Linked DNA regions of Homo sapiens: regions 1 and 2 are each linked to region 3. Evidence: promoter capture Hi-C in 16 types of primary human blood cells and fetal thymus (Javierre and others, 2016). All regions are on one chromosome and are shown on one strand. Each heading gives the region's core, a stretch centred on a gene start or on the middle of the fragment in contact. The rest is flanking DNA. Distances are from core to core; before and after follow the strand shown.

The links. The method cuts DNA at HindIII sites, captures the fragments that hold promoters and counts their contacts. A CHiCAGO score of 5 or more calls a contact.
Region 1: the fragment with the promoter of SRI here is called in contact with the fragment with the promoter of STEAP2-AS1 in region 3 in 1 of 17 cell types (M0 macrophages); the score reaches 5.6 in M0 macrophages.
Region 2: a contact is called between the fragment with the promoter of ZNF804B here and the fragment with the promoter of STEAP2-AS1 in region 3, in 9 of 17 cell types (neutrophils, total B cells, erythroblasts and 6 more). The highest score is 9.0, in neutrophils.

The regions. Positions count from the first base shown.
Region 1 is chr7:88,218,759-88,221,750 of GRCh38, reverse strand. SRI (sorcin) reads left to right here and starts at 1,713. Exons shown (of 8, transcript NM_003130.4): 1 at 1,713-1,775; 2 at 2,809-2,892. The coding sequence starts at 1,725. SRI-AS1 (SRI antisense RNA 1) reads right to left here. Exons shown (of 3, transcript NR_120517.1): 2 at 2,527-2,992. RefSeq lists silencers at 1,491-1,990, 2,638-2,727. The HindIII fragment of the contact is 22,346 bases long and covers 1-2,992 here.
Region 2 is chr7:88,758,404-88,761,365 of GRCh38, reverse strand. ZNF804B (zinc finger protein 804B) reads right to left here and starts at 1,666. Exons shown (of 4, transcript NM_181646.5): 1 at 1,282-1,666. The coding sequence starts at 1,389. RefSeq lists an enhancer at 976-1,520. The HindIII fragment of the contact is 11,667 bases long and covers 1-2,962 here.
Region 3 is chr7:90,210,013-90,213,272 of GRCh38, reverse strand. It overlaps STEAP2-AS1 (STEAP2 antisense RNA 1), which reads left to right and starts at 1,638. Exons shown (of 3, transcript NR_110029.2): 1 at 1,638-1,973. STEAP2 (STEAP2 metalloreductase) reads right to left here and starts at 1,533. Exons shown (of 6, transcript NM_001244944.2): 1 at 1,228-1,533. RefSeq lists a silencer at 1,371-1,430. The HindIII fragment of the contact is 5,296 bases long and covers 249-3,260 here.

The DNA of each region.
Region 1 (2,992 bases), core at 464-2,963, 2.0 Mb after region 3:
GTAACCAACCTGCACAATGTTCACATGTACCCTAAAACTTAAAGTGTAATTAAAAAAAAAATTCAATTCTTTAGCAGTAAAGCAGTGGGAAGATGTCTAAGGACAACTGATATGCCAATTCGTATAGCCGTTTATCCACGAAGCTAATTCTGCAGTACTTAAAAATATTTTATATGCTTTATACTTCTTTCAAACTTGAGTCTTGAGCTTGTACTCAACATCGAGTTCGGCCCTGACATCTACTCTTTATAGTCGGTTACCTCTTTCTGAAGAAACAGGCTTCCAAAGAGAGACCAGGGGACTCATTAGATGTCTCATCTACCTTGATGATTGCTACCTTGATGATTGAAAACAGTAACCTGCTTCCTGAATCAAACACAAAACAGGCAACATGCAGTGTCTTTGCTATGCCACAACAGGGACTATTAGAATTTTTCTCACAATTCGGACTTTGGTTTTCAAAAGGGCTTGCGAGGGAAGTTACACACAAGAGAAAAACAATGAACCGAATGAGGACAATAGCCCACGAATTTAGAATGGAGGAAGCCCGTCCACCACAGCGAAAAAGCACAGTACCACATTGGCGGGTGCTCCAATATTTGTGAAATGTTGATGACCCTTTAAATGTTTCTGTGCAACCTCCACAACAAATACTGTGAATCTTGCTTATTAATGCGTTTCTCAATACGTTAAAATTCAGGAAATCATTAAGTCTAGTCCTTAACAGTGAAGGGCAAGCAATTTTCTGTCATTGAAATTACACAAAACAAAACAAAAAGCTCACGCCTGAATTGCTTCGGACTATTCAACTGGAAGATAGAAAAATATATGAAGTAAAGAAGAATAACCTACATAGAAGTTCCTATCTCTTATCTTCCTGAATACTTACCAGTACACTATTAGTTTGTTCTAAACTTTTCTTATATAAAAAGTAGCTGAATACTTTTAGGGAAATGGATTGTTTTGTCTGAATCATCCAGATAATTCAAACAATTCATTTTCCTAAGAACGATATGTGTGAGTCTGTCCTGCCCGGAAAATGCCCTCTGTCCTACTCAGGACACAAGTCACGCTCAGCTTAAACAGGCAAGGAATTGTCCCCTAGGAAGGAAATACGCCGTTGTCGTTCAGTGAACTCTGCAACCAACAGCAAGCCAAACTCTCCCTTGCACACAGTTCGTCAAGTTAATTCTTATTTTCCAAGGGCGCTTTCGTATTTCCATCTTTCAAAGACTCCTTCACCCACTGGCACCTAAGGCTTGCCCTAACGCATCCAGCCCCTGCCTCGCGATGGTGCGCTCCGCTTATAATAGCTCCGTCCTGTCCAATAAAGTTGTTTAAAATAAGAAATGTGCCAGATAATAGCCAAGTCCGAAGGAAAAAAAAAAAAAAAGAATTCCTGGGGTGGTGTATTGGTGTTGGAATGTGCCATTAGTTTTGGAGGGAGGAAAGTCCCTGGTGTGAATTGCCTCGCAGGTCGTAGGCCGCCACTGGACCTTCAGTCGTGCACTGCATTAGCGCCGTAATGGCAAAGATACGAAGAAGCGCGCAGGCAGGGGAGCCACGGCCGCGCGCACAGGCAAGAGCTGGAGACGACTGCGGAGCGCGTCCCCCACGCCCGCGTGGTGCGCTCTGGGGCGGCCCCCTAGCGGCAGGGCGGGGCGGGGCAGGGGGCGGAGAGGCCTGGCGCACAGGGCGAGGGCGGCTGCGGCGCAGTCTGCAGCATGGCGTACCCGGGGCATCCTGGCGCCGGCGGCGGGTACTACCCAGGCGGGGTAAGTGCTGACTGCGCGGGATCGCGGCCCAGGCGGCTCCGGGGCGCTAAGAGGCCACCTTGGAGATGCTGCGGCCAGCGGGGTGAGGCGCTGCTGGGCGGCTACCCGGGCTCCTTCCGCCCTCGGCTTCTCCCTGCGCTCGCGGCCTCGCCCTAGGCCCCTGGGGTTCGGCCTCTCCCCACGTTTCCCCGTCCCTTCTCCTGGATGGCCCTGCGGGGCCAAGGTGAGGGTGGATTGGGACCCTAGAAGCCCACCCTGCGGCTTCTCGGATACGCGGCGTGAAATCGTGTTAATTGGGTGTTGGCTGACCCCCACCCCACCCCACCCCCGCCTTCTTGGTTGCCTCCCAGAGCAACAACAGTCATTTTATTCTAGAATGATATACCTTCCTCCCTTTAAAAAACAAACAAACAAACAAACAAACAAACAAACAAAAAACGAGTGAGAAGGGGGACGGAAAAAAAGGGAAAACCTGCTGAAGTAAAAGACCTGTAGGAAGGCAGCCTCGCCGGGCGTCTGGGATGCGCGTTGTCTTGGGAACTGTTTCCGAGACAGGCAATGTTCCCTCGCCACCCACGAGATACAGCCCGGCCGGACACCTTACTCTTCCCTAGGCTACACCCGTCTCAGAATGTTACCAACTCCAGCCTTCCATCGTTCATAAAACGCTCTTAAAATACCATAAATGCTGTAACAACAAAAGGAGAATTTGAAGCCCTGCCATTCGTTGGCTTACCTAGTTTGCACTCACCTCAGTAACCTTCAGGTTAATAGGGATTTTAAAAGTTGCTTTACATATGTAGACATCACTTTCACAGCAACTCTTTATGGTCTAAGTCGCCAGTTTTTAAATTACGGGGTGTGAATGGAAGAGAGGGGTGGAGTGTTGGCAGAGTGTGCCCGGTGGTGGGGAGGTGAGCCTTGTGAAGGGCGGGCAGGCGGGCAGTTGTCTGGCCTTGCACAAAAGCCCTCAGTGGTGAAAGAAGAAAACTTGATTCGGCAGAATGACGTGTATGTGTTTCCTGTTTCACAGTATGGAGGGGCTCCCGGAGGGCCTGCGTTTCCCGGACAAACTCAGGATCCGCTGTATGGTTACTTTGCTGCTGTAGCTGGACAGGTTAGCTTTTCCCTTTAATATTAAAGAGCCGTTATTGTCTGCATTTGTGGTAGCTTTTGATATAGTGACACAGAAAAGCGAACTTCCTGTGGTACTGAGT
Region 2 (2,962 bases), core at 417-2,916, 1.5 Mb after region 3:
CTTATACAAACAGTATTTTCCATCTAACAGTTCTGACTCAGTACTGTATACAGTTGTTGGGGGGAGCAGTTGCAACAACCCACTTTTTATAGTACATAAAAGCATGTGAAGGAATAGTTTGTCATGAGGAATCCTAGTGATATCTCTGGGCACCTGTACTTTCTGATCTTAGATTTCTCATGTAAATTACATATAGCATTTATTAATAATCAAAGGCTTTTATAATATGTTGCAGTTTTGAATAATTCATGCTAAAGAAGCATTAAACCATGATGGAAAATATCAAACATAAAAAAATTAAAGTTGGGCAATTTCAGTTTTCCCTCTTGATATCATACAGACTTAAATACTGTTTTTTATATGAAACCTCAAAAGTTGGTCTTTAAGTTTGGATACTTAGTCACTAGTAGTCCAAAACTAATATATATATATATTTATTATATATATATTTATTATATATATATTTATTATATATATATATAAATTACACACACATACACATTCACACACATTTTCTTGAAACATATTTGGAGCCTTAAAACATAATAGCATGTACCAAGAAATGAATTAATAATGTATTTAACTCATATAATCTGGATGAAATTATTTTATAAAAAGAATGTGAATAAACTGAATAGTAACTAAATTGAATAGTTTACTAAGTTAAAAAGCAATCACGTTAATTGCATGTTAATATATTTGTATATTATACAATAAATTATCCAACTCAGATTTCCATAAAGAATTCTCTTACTTCCCCTTAAAGAATGTGCATAGTTGAGCATTAGATATAATCAAGTTTTCACTACCTATAACTTTCCTTTTGCCAATGATTTGAGGGAAAATCTTTGAGTTTTTCTCACAAAGTAACAGTAGCATTATTAAACTAATCTCAACTGATGACTTTACAAAAGCACATTATAACGTGCCACTCAAACTTTCTACACTGCTCAAATCAGCAGATTCGTAAGTTGACATAGCACAGAGGAGCTACCTTCTGAGCCCTGCAGTTGACTGCATTCAGTAAGTATTTACATCCGTAGCACTATAGATCCTACTGACTGAATTGAAAATACACATGTAAATACACACCCCTCTCTGTGTCACAGTCTGTCAATAAATTGTATAAACGGACACGATGTATCTCCATACCTATGGATAAGGTATACGTTTTAGATGTCCACCACCTACTCATTGTATCAGGATACTATCTCTCAATATCTTTTTGTTTGTGTTGAGTTGGAACGTTTGTGTATGTATGTGTGTGCGCGCGCACATTACCGGAGAGGGAGATCCGTTCTTGCACAGGGGTCCCCTGAAGACTCCTTTAATGCCCCGGTAGTGCCCATTGCTGAGATGTCTCGAACTGATGACCAGGTAACAAGCCATGTGGGTCCGGGCGGAGGCGCAGAGTCTCAACTCCTCACCAGGCGACCAGCCGTGGAAAGCGGGCGGGTTTCTCAGCGGCAACAGCGACTACCACCTCCCGAGAAGACGCGGCCAGCAGGACGCAGGGGGAGGCGGTGGCAGCGCGTCCCTGCTCCGCGCCCCGTGCGGGGCTCCTGCTGCCGACAGCTGCTGCTCTGACAGAGGCGGCGGCGGCGACAGCACAGAGCACGGAGGGGACCCGGCGAGCCAGTCCACATGCTGCTCTGACGAGGTGGCTGCTCAACCGCGGGCCAGCGATATATTTATTTAAGGACAACTTCCAGGGTCCACCAGGGAATCAGGAATTCCCCCGCCCCTTTCCTCCCGCCCCCTGCCTTCGCGCCTGGCGCCTGCCCGGGGGATGCTCAGGCGCGGGTACCCATCGTCCGGCCGGGGGCGTCCTGGGCTGCTGGCTGCAGTGTGAAGATCCAGCAGCAGCCGCCGCCACCGCCGCTGCTTTGTGGGGAGAGTGGCGGGGAGTCCTTGGGAGCGCCAAAGCGCTGCCCCCGCTGCAGTCGGGAGAGGGCGGAGGAGGAGACGGGCGGGCCGGGGTGAGGACAGGGAGTTGGGGACGCGGCGACCTGTGCTTGAGGAGGGCAGTTAGCGCCTCTGCTGGGAGCTGTGGGCTCGGGGCTGCCCAGGAGGCTCAGGTGTGCTGTGGGGCGAGGCCAGGAGGTGACAGCTGCCGCTGCAGCCGCGGGGGGCTCTCGGGGCTGCAGGACCCGCCTCTCCCACCTCCCGGCCTCAGCCGCCCAGCCCCCCGGTTCTTCTGCCCTATCTCTGAGCCAACTTTCTACTGTTTGGGAGTCACCTGGGAGGACTGGGGAGGCTGTGGTGGAGGAGATGGGCAGGAGGAGGGCGTTTTCTTTACTCTTTCGTTGCCTGCTGGCCTTCAGCTTTTCTTCAGCGCTCTGGCTGACGGCGGCGTTGGCAGAAGCAACAGCTCCCCAGCCGGTTGCAAGAATGAGCTGTGCAGCCACAAATAGGGCAGACAGATTAGATGCGCCGTGGTAGGGAACGCACGGACGAGGAAAGTTTTGGGCAGAAAACTTATATAAGGTATAGAAACGAGACATGCATACGTATATGTGCATATACATGCACGTACCCAGAGTTATGAAGATTCACTTACAAGCCTTTCTGTATCTTAGCGAGGCACATATTTTTGGTCTCTATAAGACCTCTGTGCTTTCAAAACCCCCAATAATCACCCCTCTCAGAAGTGGTTTTTAACGGACCTTATTTCGTTTACCGTAATTTAAGCCACCAGGGAGCGAGCTGCACTGAGAATAAAAAGACCTGGGCAGAAATGTGCTCTGAAAGGAGAAGATAGCCCTCCCAGGGTTTGGAGACACCCTGCACTCTCCTCCACCCCGCGGTTGCTTAATGCGGTTCTGCAATCCATCTCTGCCTCACCTCGCCTTGTCTGTGCCTGGGAGAAGGTAAAGGTTCACCTCCTCTCAGTCTGTTGCTTCAGCGCTGGAATTGAAAGGCTACCGCCAATGCGCTAATTCTCCCCAGTATTGTCCTCTCC
Region 3 (3,260 bases), core at 389-2,888:
GTACAATAAAAAGTGACTTGGATAAAGCTTTTCATTTCCTTACTGCACAATTTGCTCAAGTTGTCATTCTCAATATTGTCTCATTTCCCCATACCCTGACAGAGTGACTAGCTAAGAGGCAGAGAGTGCAGCCATCCCAATGGCAGCACACATAGTTACTCTTTATGTTTCTAAACATCCTGCAAATTATTTAGGACGGGTGTTTTGTTTTGTTTTGTTTTGCTTTTCCATTAAATAGCCTCTAAGCTTTGAAGCAACCAAGAGAGAATCGGAGTAAAAAAATTATAGGGTTAAAGAAAGAAAAAATAAACAGATCAATAAAATGAAGAAATAATAAAGTGGAGAAAAGGAAGGATGGGGAGGTGGTTTAGAAAACAAAAAGGGTTCCAAGCAGCGGGGCTGTTAAAAGGACCAGAATCTAAGTCAGGAGGTTGGGGGTGGGGGTGGGGGTGGGGCAGGAGTCTGAATTCTTTTTCTCCTATACTGATGAGCGATAATTAACTATGGCCTGGACTGTCTTTCCATCTAAAAAACTAACTGCCCGAGGAGTAAAAACTGACACCAATCCTTCTCCACGGGGTGGGAGAGATAATAAATGGAAATCTTCCAACAAAAATGCTCTTTATCTCTCTGCTCTATTTTAAGAGCAAGATTTTTAGGGCATAATTTTCAACAAGTTTTGGCTGAGGCTGAACACAGGGTTCAAAGATAATTTAGGACAGTCAAAGAAGAGGCCAATTACTTTCTAACAGAAATGGCCTAAACACCACGATTACATTACTGGGAAATAAACCAAATGACTGCTAGAAATACCTGTTCGCAAAGCAGCACTGCATGATCTTCCATGAAATGCCCTGCATCAACCCAAAGTAGCAGGGAGACTATCAAGGGGGCGAAAGTAACCTGCCTGTCCTTTCCTGCTGGGACACATCCTACCTGGGACAATGTCTCCTTGCCTTCTTTCTCCTGGGCCCAACCTCAGGACTTGCCCTTAGCTCTAGGAACCAAGAGGAGGAGGAGGGGGAATCAGTGGAACAGACACCCTTCTCCACCCTTCTCACTTTCCACCTTAAGGTGCCAGGAGATGAGGGACCCCGCAGCTCAGGGCGGACGCCCGGTGAGGGCGCAGAATCGGGGAGGATGGATGCAGCGCGTGGCGCAGACTGCATCTTGACCCTCAACTCCGCCGCCGCTACCTTCTTTCGCGCTCCTCCCCGACCCGCTCACCTCCGCGCCCCCCGCGCCCTCCACGCCGGGCAGGGGCGAGCCTTGCAGCTCCCCGGGAGCGGCGCCGACTCCCCAAGGGCCCACCCGGGGGCCAGGGCCTACGGACTGCACCTCCGACTGGCGGTTGCAGGGTGGCTGCCGCGGCGGTCGCACTCCAGCTGCTTCCCCGCCTACCCAAGCTGGATCGCGAACAGCCAGGGGAGAAGGAAGGAGGGAGGCGCGCGGAGGCCGGCTTGGCAGCGACGCGCCGCTAGGGGCTGCGTGCCCGGACAGCTCGTGGCGCCGAGGGCCCGAGGAACGCTGACTGGAGTCGGGAAGAGCCGTGGAGCGCGGGGAGGAGTCGGGGAGCTCGGAGGGGGCGGGGGTGTGTGAAGGGAGCCGGGCTGTGTGGAGGGAGCTGGGAAGGGCCCAGAGCACCGAGGGGGAGCCAGCAGTGAGTGCACTGGGGAGCTCCACACACGCGGCTCCGCAGCTTTGCGCGCCCTTCTACCGCGAGCGGCTGAGTATCCGCCTGGCTCCCCTGCGGGGTTCCTCCGTGGTCTTCCGGAGATTCTTTCTGAAGCAGCTTTAGAATAGTCAAGCCTATTTTTCTACTCCATTTCTTTTTGTAATGTGGGGTCACCTTTCCGCTCTAGAAATTGCTTTTCTTACGCGATTCCCACCCCAACTCTCGCCAAGGGCCCTGGTTCTCATCTCCCCAGTCTTAGCTTCTGACAAGCCTCCAAGAAACTGCGCTTTTTTCTTTTGTAAGTGTTCTTTTGCCTCATGTTTACCCTATCCCAAACGTCTTTTGACTAGACTGTGTCCTTGGAATAAAATGTTCGGAAATGCCCTTTCATGAAAACTCCCTCGGATAGGAGGACCCTCACAGACCCTGGACTGCAGAGATTATTCTGTTGACTTTGACCTTCACTCTAGCTGGTGCCGCGCGAGCTTTGGTGTGGGGGAAAGGAAGGTTAGGCCGTGAGTCAGGAGACCTGTGTTCCTGCGAAAGCCATTTACCTTCTGGGGCCGCAATGGCTTTGAATGTTTCAGGGGATCCCCTGAGAGCACCTTTGGCTCTGGGTTTCTGTAAATTTTCTCCCTGCGGATTACCAAGTAAAAGTACCTTTTATCTTTTGTGTAGAAGGTGTCAGTAGAAGAAGCAAGAGATCTTTATTCCCAAATATAAAATCAACTTACCAAAAATTCTCAAATTTGGGGAAATTTTTTTCATACATTAGTAAAGTACCATTTCAACAAATTAAGTTTAAAAATTATCCCTCTAGGTGGTTTATTAACCAGACCAAAAAAACCCAACAACAACAACAACGAGAGGGGGGTCTTAGATCGATCACTGGGGCACTGCACTTTCCCCTTTGTAGTCCATACACAGATTAACCTTTGTAAATGCTGCTTTGGAAATACATCCTTTGTTTGACTTGAAATGTAACCCCTCCCCTACCGCCAAATATTATTAAGGTTTAAAGTTTAGGCAGAAGCTAAGGTTTTAACGATGTGTCAGGGTGTGGAACCATCGACAGCTGGTAGAATACTTTCCATTTTGGTTACTGGAAACAAGTCATTAAATCTAATATCAATTTTAATAATTTCACTTCAACAAAACTGTCAAATAATGAGATTCGTGGAGTTTTTTCTAGTAGTTCCTCTGGAGAACTTGTGGAGAAAATTCATGAATCTTAGCAGTTAACGGAAAGTATATTGCTTTTCCATATATTTTAAAAAACTATAGAATTATATAACTTCCCCACGGGGATATTAAAAGAAATTGCACTTTCTAACTTCTATAACCATAAATTATCATGTAAAACATGTAGGTAAGCCATATATTTTAAATATGTTTAAAAGCTCTCTTAACATGGGCTTTGACTATTGAGAAAATAGATAAAGTAATGTGAAATCCCTTTTCCTAAATGAGAATCAGTGAGTCAACAATTTGCAGCTTCCAAAAGGGATATCTCTTTTTCATGCTTGAACTATTAAAATAAACAAATATCTTTGATGGGAAATCTAATGTTACCAAATGTGTTCCA